Regions from separate parts of the Homo sapiens genome. Here region 1 is linked to region 2. Evidence: promoter capture Hi-C in human tissues and cell types (Jung and others, 2019). All regions are on one chromosome and are shown on one strand. Each heading gives the region's core, a stretch centred on a gene start or on the middle of the fragment in contact. The rest is flanking DNA. Distances are from core to core; before and after follow the strand shown. Region 1 overlaps ABCC6 (ATP binding cassette subfamily C member 6). Region 2 holds the start of ABCC1 (ATP binding cassette subfamily C member 1 (ABCC1 blood group)).

Evidence for each region. The method cuts DNA at HindIII sites, captures the fragments that hold promoters and counts their contacts. A contact is called where the count stands out against the background at its distance.
Region 1: a fragment that was not itself captured here is called in contact with the fragment with the promoter of ABCC1 in region 2 in 1 of the 25 tissues and cell types used here (lymphoblastoid cells).

What each region holds. Positions count from the first base shown.
Region 1 is chr16:16,161,881-16,165,343 of GRCh38, reverse strand. ABCC6 (ATP binding cassette subfamily C member 6) reads left to right here. Exons shown (of 31, transcript NM_001171.6): 24 at 2,152-2,351. Among named protein-coding and RNA genes, the nearest start is that of ABCC6, 60 kb to the left of the region's middle. The HindIII fragment of the contact is 5,227 bases long and covers 1-3,463 here.
Region 2 is chr16:15,948,366-15,952,911 of GRCh38, reverse strand. It overlaps ABCC1 (ATP binding cassette subfamily C member 1 (ABCC1 blood group)), which reads right to left and starts at 3,296. Exons shown (of 31, transcript NM_004996.4): 1 at 3,113-3,296. The coding sequence starts at 3,160. LOC107984869 (a long non-coding RNA gene) reads left to right here and starts at 3,741. Exons shown (of 3, transcript XR_001752339.2): 1 at 3,741-4,121. The HindIII fragment of the contact is 39,892 bases long and covers 1-4,546 here.

The sequences.
Region 1 (3,463 bases), core at 13-2,512, 210 kb before region 2:
CTCCTGGGTTCAGGTGATCCTCCTACCTCAGCCTCTCAAGTAGCTGGGACTACAGGCACGTGCCACCATGACTGGCTAATTTTTAAATTTATTTTTGTAGGACAAGTGTCTTCCTGTGTTGCCCAGGCTGGTCTCGAATTCCTGGCCCCAAGTGATCCTCCCACCTTGGCCTCCCAAAGTTCTGGGATTACAGGGCATGAGCCCCTGTGCCCCACGGCACAGTTAAATATTAAGGGCCAGAGCCTTTCACGCGTAATGTTTTTATCCTGCCGTAATTTCTTCCTCTCCAATTATCTGGAAGCCAAAAAGGCATTGCAAGGTCTCAAAGGCTATTATATGAAGCTAGATTCTTTCAATTGCTGGGACCAGCAACCAACTAAAATTAGCTTAACCAAAAGAATAGAATTTAATGGCTTATATTTCCTTGGGGGCATGGGCCCAGTTGTCATCAGGACACAGTGACTCTCTCCATATCTTCACTCAGTGCTTCTCAAAGTGTGACCCCAGGACCAGCAGTAGTATCACCTGGGGACTAGTTAGCAAAGTACATTCTTAGGCCCCAGCCCAGGACTACTGCCTCAGATACTATGTGGGTCGGCCCATGAATCTAGGTTTTAATTAACCCTCCAAGTAATTCTGATGTACACAAATGTTTAGGAACCACTGGCTTACCTCTGGTCTAATTTTGTACACGCTCTCTTTCCAGGGCAGGTCTTATGGCCACTAGCTATCATATCATCTCACCTTAGCAACTCAACATGCAAAAAACGTTTCTTCAGCTCAGTAGTCATATATTAATCCCAGGGAAGGTTCTGATTGGCCCTTTGTGGATCATGTGTCCATCTCTGAACTCGTCACAGTAACTGAATGGATAGTAGATTCTGATACACTAGGCTGCATCATGTGACCACCTCTCTGATCAGGTCCCATGATTGACAGCACCCCAACCCAGCCCTTTCCCACAGGAAACCAGAAGTAGAAAACATGGTAGTCAGATAAAAACCATGGCTAGGGCTAGGCATGGTGGCTCACACATCTAATCACAGCACTTTGGGAGGCTGAGGTGGGCAGATCACTTGAGGTCAGGAGTTCGAGACCAGCCTGGTCAACATGGTGAAACTCCGTCTACTAAAAATACAAAAATTTAGCCAGTGTGGTGGCGCATGCTTGTAATCCCAGCTTCTTGGGAGGATGAGGCGGGAGGATTGCTTGAGCCCGGGAGGCAGAGGTTGCAGCGAGCTGAGATTGCACCACTGCACTCCAGCCTGGGTGACAGAGAGAGACTCCATCTCAAAAAACAAACAACAAAACCCATGGCTACCACTGTCCCCGACAATTGTCCTAGGTCTTCTCTAAGTTCACTTGACTCCGAGGATGGGCTGTTTCTGTCTCAAGCTTTAGAGTCAAGCAAAGATGGGTTTAAATCCAGGCTCTATCACTTACTGTGGCACTCAGGACAGCTGCTGAATCCCCCGAGCCTTGGATGTTCTCACCACTAACTGATGAATGACGCGAATGCTCACTCTGCAATGAATGAGACACTGTGTGAAAAGCCTGGCACATACAGTTGGGTGTTCAGCAAATTCAGTTCCTCCCTGCCTGCCTGTCTGCCAGCTGCACCCAACCTGCAGCTGCAAACCAAATAACGAATATTTTCTGCACATCACCTGGCATGTAACCCTTGGGTTACATGAGTGAAACTGACTTGGCCAACTGCCTTCATTGCCCCTTACAGTTTTGTTCTCCCACTGACCAGCCGTAAATGAAGTAGTCGGCCTCAGTGCTGGGAAGTGAGACACTTAAACTAAATTGGTGGTTTCTCAACCCTGGCTGTCCCTTAGAATCATCTGGAAGGCTATTTAAACAGCACCAAAGTCAAGGTGACATTTCCAGAGATTCCGATTCAGTCATTCTGGGGTGGGGCATTAGAGGTTTTTGAAGCTCCCCAGGTGATTTTCAAAAAAACCATAGAACTCTGATTCTGCAAGGAAATGAGAACCCAGAGAGGGCAAGCAACTAGCCCAAGGTCACACAGTAAGCTGTTAACAGATCCTGGTCTGGAATCCTGTACTTGGGGCTCTCTGTGCTTCTGGAAACTACCTCTCTATGTCTGTGGCTTCTCCTCTTCCCTCTCCCATCCATCCTTCTCAGAGCCTGTATGTGGTTAGCTCATGCCAGCTGAGACGCTTGGAGTCAGCCAGCTACTCGTCTGTCTGCTCCCACATGGCTGAGACGTTCCAGGGCAGCACAGTGGTCCGGGCATTCCGAACCCAGGCCCCCTTTGTGGCTCAGAACAATGCTCGCGTAGATGAAAGCCAGAGGATCAGTTTCCCGCGACTGGTGGCTGACAGGTAGGAAGAGCCAGGGCAGAGAAGACCTTGCAATTCATCCATATCCTTAGAGGGTGAGACCTGAGGTCATATTGTATGGTAGAGAGGTCACCCAGAGAGTCAGGGACATAGTTGAGGCTAGATCCCACAGGCAGTCTATCAGTTCTCACCGTGGGCAGATGGAACATGACCGAGAGATTCTCAACAGCAGGTGGGCGGGGGGTACAGGAAGAAGCTTCTGTTGCCAGGCAACTGGATCAACCTCTTTTGCCTTGGTGATAAAGCAGCCATATAAGCATCCTCAGCCATCTTTAGGTACTAAGCAAGAACAAGAACACAAGCTTTAAGCACAAATAGACACAGGTTCAAATCCCAGCTCTGCCACTTACCAGCTGGTTGATTTCAGGCAAGTTACATAACCTCTCTGAGCCTCATTTGTCAAACTGGGATCGTGCTCATGGAGTGGATATGAGGATTAAATACAGACACTCATAGGTAAGACCTGTAACATGCTTACTGCATGCCTGGCACTGTTCTGAGCAATCTATGTAGATTAATTTATTTAATTCTGCTAACAGCTTCACCAGGAAGAAACTGTTCTATAGATGATAAATCCTAGGCACAGTGAGGTTTGGAAACTTGTCCAGGGTCTCACAGCTAATACTGGCAGAGCCAGGATTTGAATCCAAGCAGTCTGGTACCAGAGTGTGGAGAGGGTCAAGTACACACTAGGTGCTCAATACATGTGAAGTCCTTTTTCCTTTCATCTCAGGTCCCCAGCCAGCTGGGGCTGTGTATTAGTCCATCTTCACACTGCTAAAAAGAACTACCTGAGACTGAGTAATTTATAAAGAAAGGAAGGTTTAATTGACTCAGTTCCACGTGGCTGGGGAGGCCTCAGGAAACTTACAATCATGGTGGAAAGGGAAGCAAGGCACGTCTTACATGGCAGCAGGAGAGGGAGAGCATGAGGTGGGAACTGCCGCATCCTTTTACGCCATATGATCTTGTGAGAACTCACTATCTCGAGAACAATATGGGGAAAACTGCCCCCATGATCCAGTCACCTCCCACCAGATCCCTCCCTCCACATGTGGGGATTACAATTTGAGATGAGATTTGGGTGGGGACAC
Region 2 (4,546 bases), core at 2,047-4,546:
CCACACCACCATGCCAGGCTTTTTTTTTTTTTTTGGTATTATTAGTAGAGACGGGGGTCAATCCATGTTGCCTAGGCTGGTCTCGAACTCCTGACCTCAAGCAATCCGCCTGCCTCAGCCTCCCAAAGTGCTGGGATTACAGGCGTGAGCCACTGCACCCGGCCTGCTTTTTTTTTTTTTTTTTTTTTTTTTTTTAATGAACTCACAAAAAGTCCCAGGCCCATTTTTCCAACCATCATGCCAATATCAACCACAAAGCAGCGCCTCCTACCAGTCCCACCCCCATGAGAAAAGAAAGCCAAGGGCTGCTGTGACCTGTCCTCAGGCCCTATTTTCCGTTTTGATAGCAAAGTTCTCCTTTTCTCTTCCCAGAGCATCTGTCTGAGTAAAGGTCAACAGAACACTTATCATGGGCCATTTCCATCTTCTGGGTTTTCTGGACATTTCCTGCGGCTCAGAGGCAGACAGTAGCCCAGAAACAAAGCTCTGACAGAGTCACCCGAGGCCCACTGACCTTGACTTCTAAGCACATGACCTTGGTCACAACAGGAGCCAGGCACGGGTGCCTCACTGCCTTTTCACAGCCCAATCCCATCTCCACCAGCTGAAGAAAAGGGGAATCCAAAGGAAGAACAAGGAGCTTAAAACACACAACTTCATCTTTGGAAAAAATAATATTTAATACTAACCATTGTTTATCTCCGTGCAGGGCACAAGCTGAGCCACTTACAAGATTAACTCATTGACCCTTCGCAACAACCCAAGAAGGCTGCCACATTTTTGGCTCCTGTCCAATTTTAGAGATGAGGAAAGTGAGGCACACAGAGGGAAAGTGGCTTGCTCAAGGTCACACAGTTATCTGACTGCCTGGGAGGCCAGTCGCTCCTGGCCTCGGACACGCTACCTTGAAAAACACAAAAACAGCCGGGCACAGAGGCCCATGCCTGTAATCTCAACACTTTTGGAGGCCAAGGCAGGAGGATCGCTTGAGCCCAGGAGTAGGAGACCAGCCTGGGCAATATAGTGCGAATCTGTCTCTATAAAAAATACAAAAATTAGCTGGGCGTGGTGGCACACGCCTATAGTCCCAGGTACTTGGGAGGCTGAGTTAGGAGGACCACTTGAGCCGGGGAGGCAGAGATTGCAGTAAGCTGAGATCGTGCCACTGCACTCCAGCCTGGGTGACAGAGCAAGACTCTGTCTCAAAAAAGAAAAAGAAAAAAAAAAGAAAAGAAAAAAGCAACAACTACCTACTTTCTAGCTTTCAGTTAATTATATTTCAATTTTCCCACTCAGGCCCCAGTTGCCTCCTCTCAAATTCTGGTTCCAAGGCACCTCCAACAAGTCTTGGAATCCAGACAGCAGAAATACGCAAGGTCAAACACGGGGATGGGGTACCTACCAGAGGCAGAGATCAGCTACAATTACCCCCAAGCAAAACCCAACCACCTGGCAATTTCTGTGGCAGAAAGTCCTTAACGAAGGAAAAAATAAAAAGAAAAAAGAAAATAAAAATTTTAAAAAATATTACAACTGGACTTCGTGAATGAGTTTCTTAAGATAAACAAAGCGCACCCCAAACATACTCATTAGCCATCAACTACCAATTGCCATCAATAAAATACGTCCTGATACAAAACCTCATGGATGTTCACCCTGTTTTGCCCCCTCCTCAATTCAGAAGAAAATAAACAAGAGAATATTCTGGAATTCACAGCAACACAAACCCAGATCACCATGTGAATCTTTGCAAAAAATAATCTTGCTGTTACTACACCTGGCAACAAGGAAGCCACAGGTTTTCCCCTGCTAAAGAAAGTCCATCTGCAAAGAGGCTCCAATCACCCCCAGACCCTCAAGGCAAAGTCTGTGTTCTATTTCCACCCCTGGGGTTACTCTCCAACCCCACTGGCTTAAAATGGGAGATATATCAAAGTGTGGTAGGTTATTAAACACAATGATACCCTACTAAAAAAAACAAACAAACAAAACCAAACCCTCCAATGGGGCCCTGGAGGATGACTTTTCAACACTCCAAATGCAACCCTCGAGGAAAGGCCGGCAAAACAGGACAAGAAAGTATTTTTGGAAGCTGATCACCAGCTCCTAAGAACCAAGGCTGTTTCTCCTGATTCCTAAACAAAAGAGGAGAGAGAAACAGTCGTGTCCAGATTTGCCTACTGCGTTCACCAACAATCAAGACAGCACGAGACAGAAGTGCCTGCCTTCCTGGAACAAAGAGGCAAATCGCATTACGGAGAAGCTGAAGCCCAAAAGACTGGGGCTTAAACCACAGCAAGTGGACTCCAGACACCCAGTCAGGCTCCGCAGGCCACGTTACAGAAGAAAACTTGCCGGGGTTAAATCTAAGGGGCATCCCCAGAGAGGAGCTCCACGTGTTGCAGGGAAGGGAGGGCAGGACCACAGCTACCAGGGTCCTGGGCGTCCTCAGCTGCACCCCAAGTCTGCCCCGAGCCGAGGGTCAGGTAGGGCACATCAAGGGTGGACATCCCCCTTCTTCCCTGGTTCCCCCAAACTTCCCCCGCAGTATCTAAGTAGAAAGAACAAAAAAAACAAAGCTAGGTAACCACAGAAGAGTAATGTGGCTTGTACGACAACTTTGGGGAGACAATGAAAGTCCCTTTCTACAATCTAAGCCCCTCCCCAGCTCACCCCGTTGGTCACGGAGTATTTTTCGTGAAAAGGGGGGACCCTAACCACAAAAAAGATGGGAAAACAGAAGCAGAGAGACACCCCTCTTCCCGCCCCCCATCTCTAGCGTCCCCTTCCCTGGAAGGTTGTTTTTACAGACGGGAACCCCAAAACAGGAAGGCCTCCTCACGGCGGCTCTGACCCGACCCGACCCTCCAAAACCCCAGGGCTGGGCACGCGGCCCCCCACGCTCTGCTCCGCAGGAACTGAGTCACCCAAGTTTCCCCCATGCCTTGCACCCCCGAAAGGGGCTGGGCCGCGGGCGACGTGAGGGTCCCGGGCCCCCGAGGCCGGCAGCAGAGCGGGGAGCGGGGTGCCCCGGGCGGCTGCGGGCCCGGTGCTTTCCCTCCCCGCCGGCCTCCCTCCGTCCCGCCGGCCTCACGCGGCCCCCGGCACGTACCCAGAGCGGGTCGGAGCCATCGGCGCTGCAGAAGCCCCGGAGCGCCATGCCGGTGGCGCGGGCGGCGGCGGGCACCGGGCGGCGGGTGATCGGGCCCGGTTGCTGGCGCGGGCGGCGGCGGGCACCGGGCGGCGGGTGATCGGGCCCGGCTGCTGGCGCTAGCGCTGGCGGCGGCGGCGGCGGCGGCGCAGGGAGCCGGGGCCGGGGCCGCAACGCCGCCTGGTTGGCCCGCGCGTCACGGGGATGCGGCGGCCCCGCCCCACCCCGCCCCGCCCCGGCGCCCGCTCACCTCGCGCGTCTCGGCGTGGGCAGCCGGACCAGCCACCTCTCGGCGCCCCGGGCCTGGACCCCGCGCCACCCCCACCCCAGATCCTCCAAGGCTTAGGCCCACCCGCTCGCGGACGGGCCTGGGGAGCGTTGGCTCGCCTTCCGGAAGCGCCTGGGATCTTTGGGGCCACACACCCTGCGACCACTTTTCAAATGCTGTTTAAGGACAGTATCCGTCACCAGGGGAAAATAACGTGAACGGAGCCCCCTACCTGCCTGGAGTGTACCGGGCGCCTTAACTGTGCCCTCATTTCATCCTGTAAAGTCTCCACGTTCATGAAGGAAGAAACCCAGGTGCAGAGAGGTTGAGTGATTCCCTCTGCCCAGGGTCACCTGGCTAATCACTTGCAGGGCTGGGATTTGAACCCGGTCCGCTGACTCCAAAGCTGAGTCACACAGAAGGAGGTGAATACTGTTATTCACCTACCTTTTACAGATGGGGAAACTGAGGTTCAGAAAGGCGAAGTGACTTGCCCGAGGTCACACAGTTAATAAGGAGTGAAAGTGGAAGTGAGATTCAAACCCGTGAGCAGCCTGATTCCGGAGCACTGATGACCCAGACGGCGCCAGTCTCCATCACTAACAGCTGTTGACCTCACCTGTGTGCAGAGCGCCTTTGCTTCTTCTCAACCTCTTTAAGCATCACTTAGAAATAACCAGGTTATTGATCCTCACCTCAGAGGTAAGGAAACTGAAGCCTGGAGACATGATAATCGTAGGCCAGGCATGGTGGCTCGTGCTTGTAATCAAGCACTTTGGGAAGCCGAGGCGGGCCGATCACATAAGGTCAGGAGTTCAAGACCAGCCTAGCCAACATAGCAAAACCCTGTCTCTACTAAAAACACAAAAATTAGCCGGGCATGGTGGCGGGCACCTGTAGTCCCAGCTACTTGAGAAGCTGAAACAGGAGAATCACTTGAACCTGGGAGGCGGAGGTTGAAATGAGCTTAGATCACACCACTGCACTCCAGCCTGGGCAACAGAGCAAGACTCTGTCTCAAAAAATAATAATAAAAAAAATTAATATGCATTCACAGTGACAAGGCTTCCTAAGGCTGTGTTCTTAGCAATTTACACAAATTAACTTGTGCAATCCTCACAACCCCA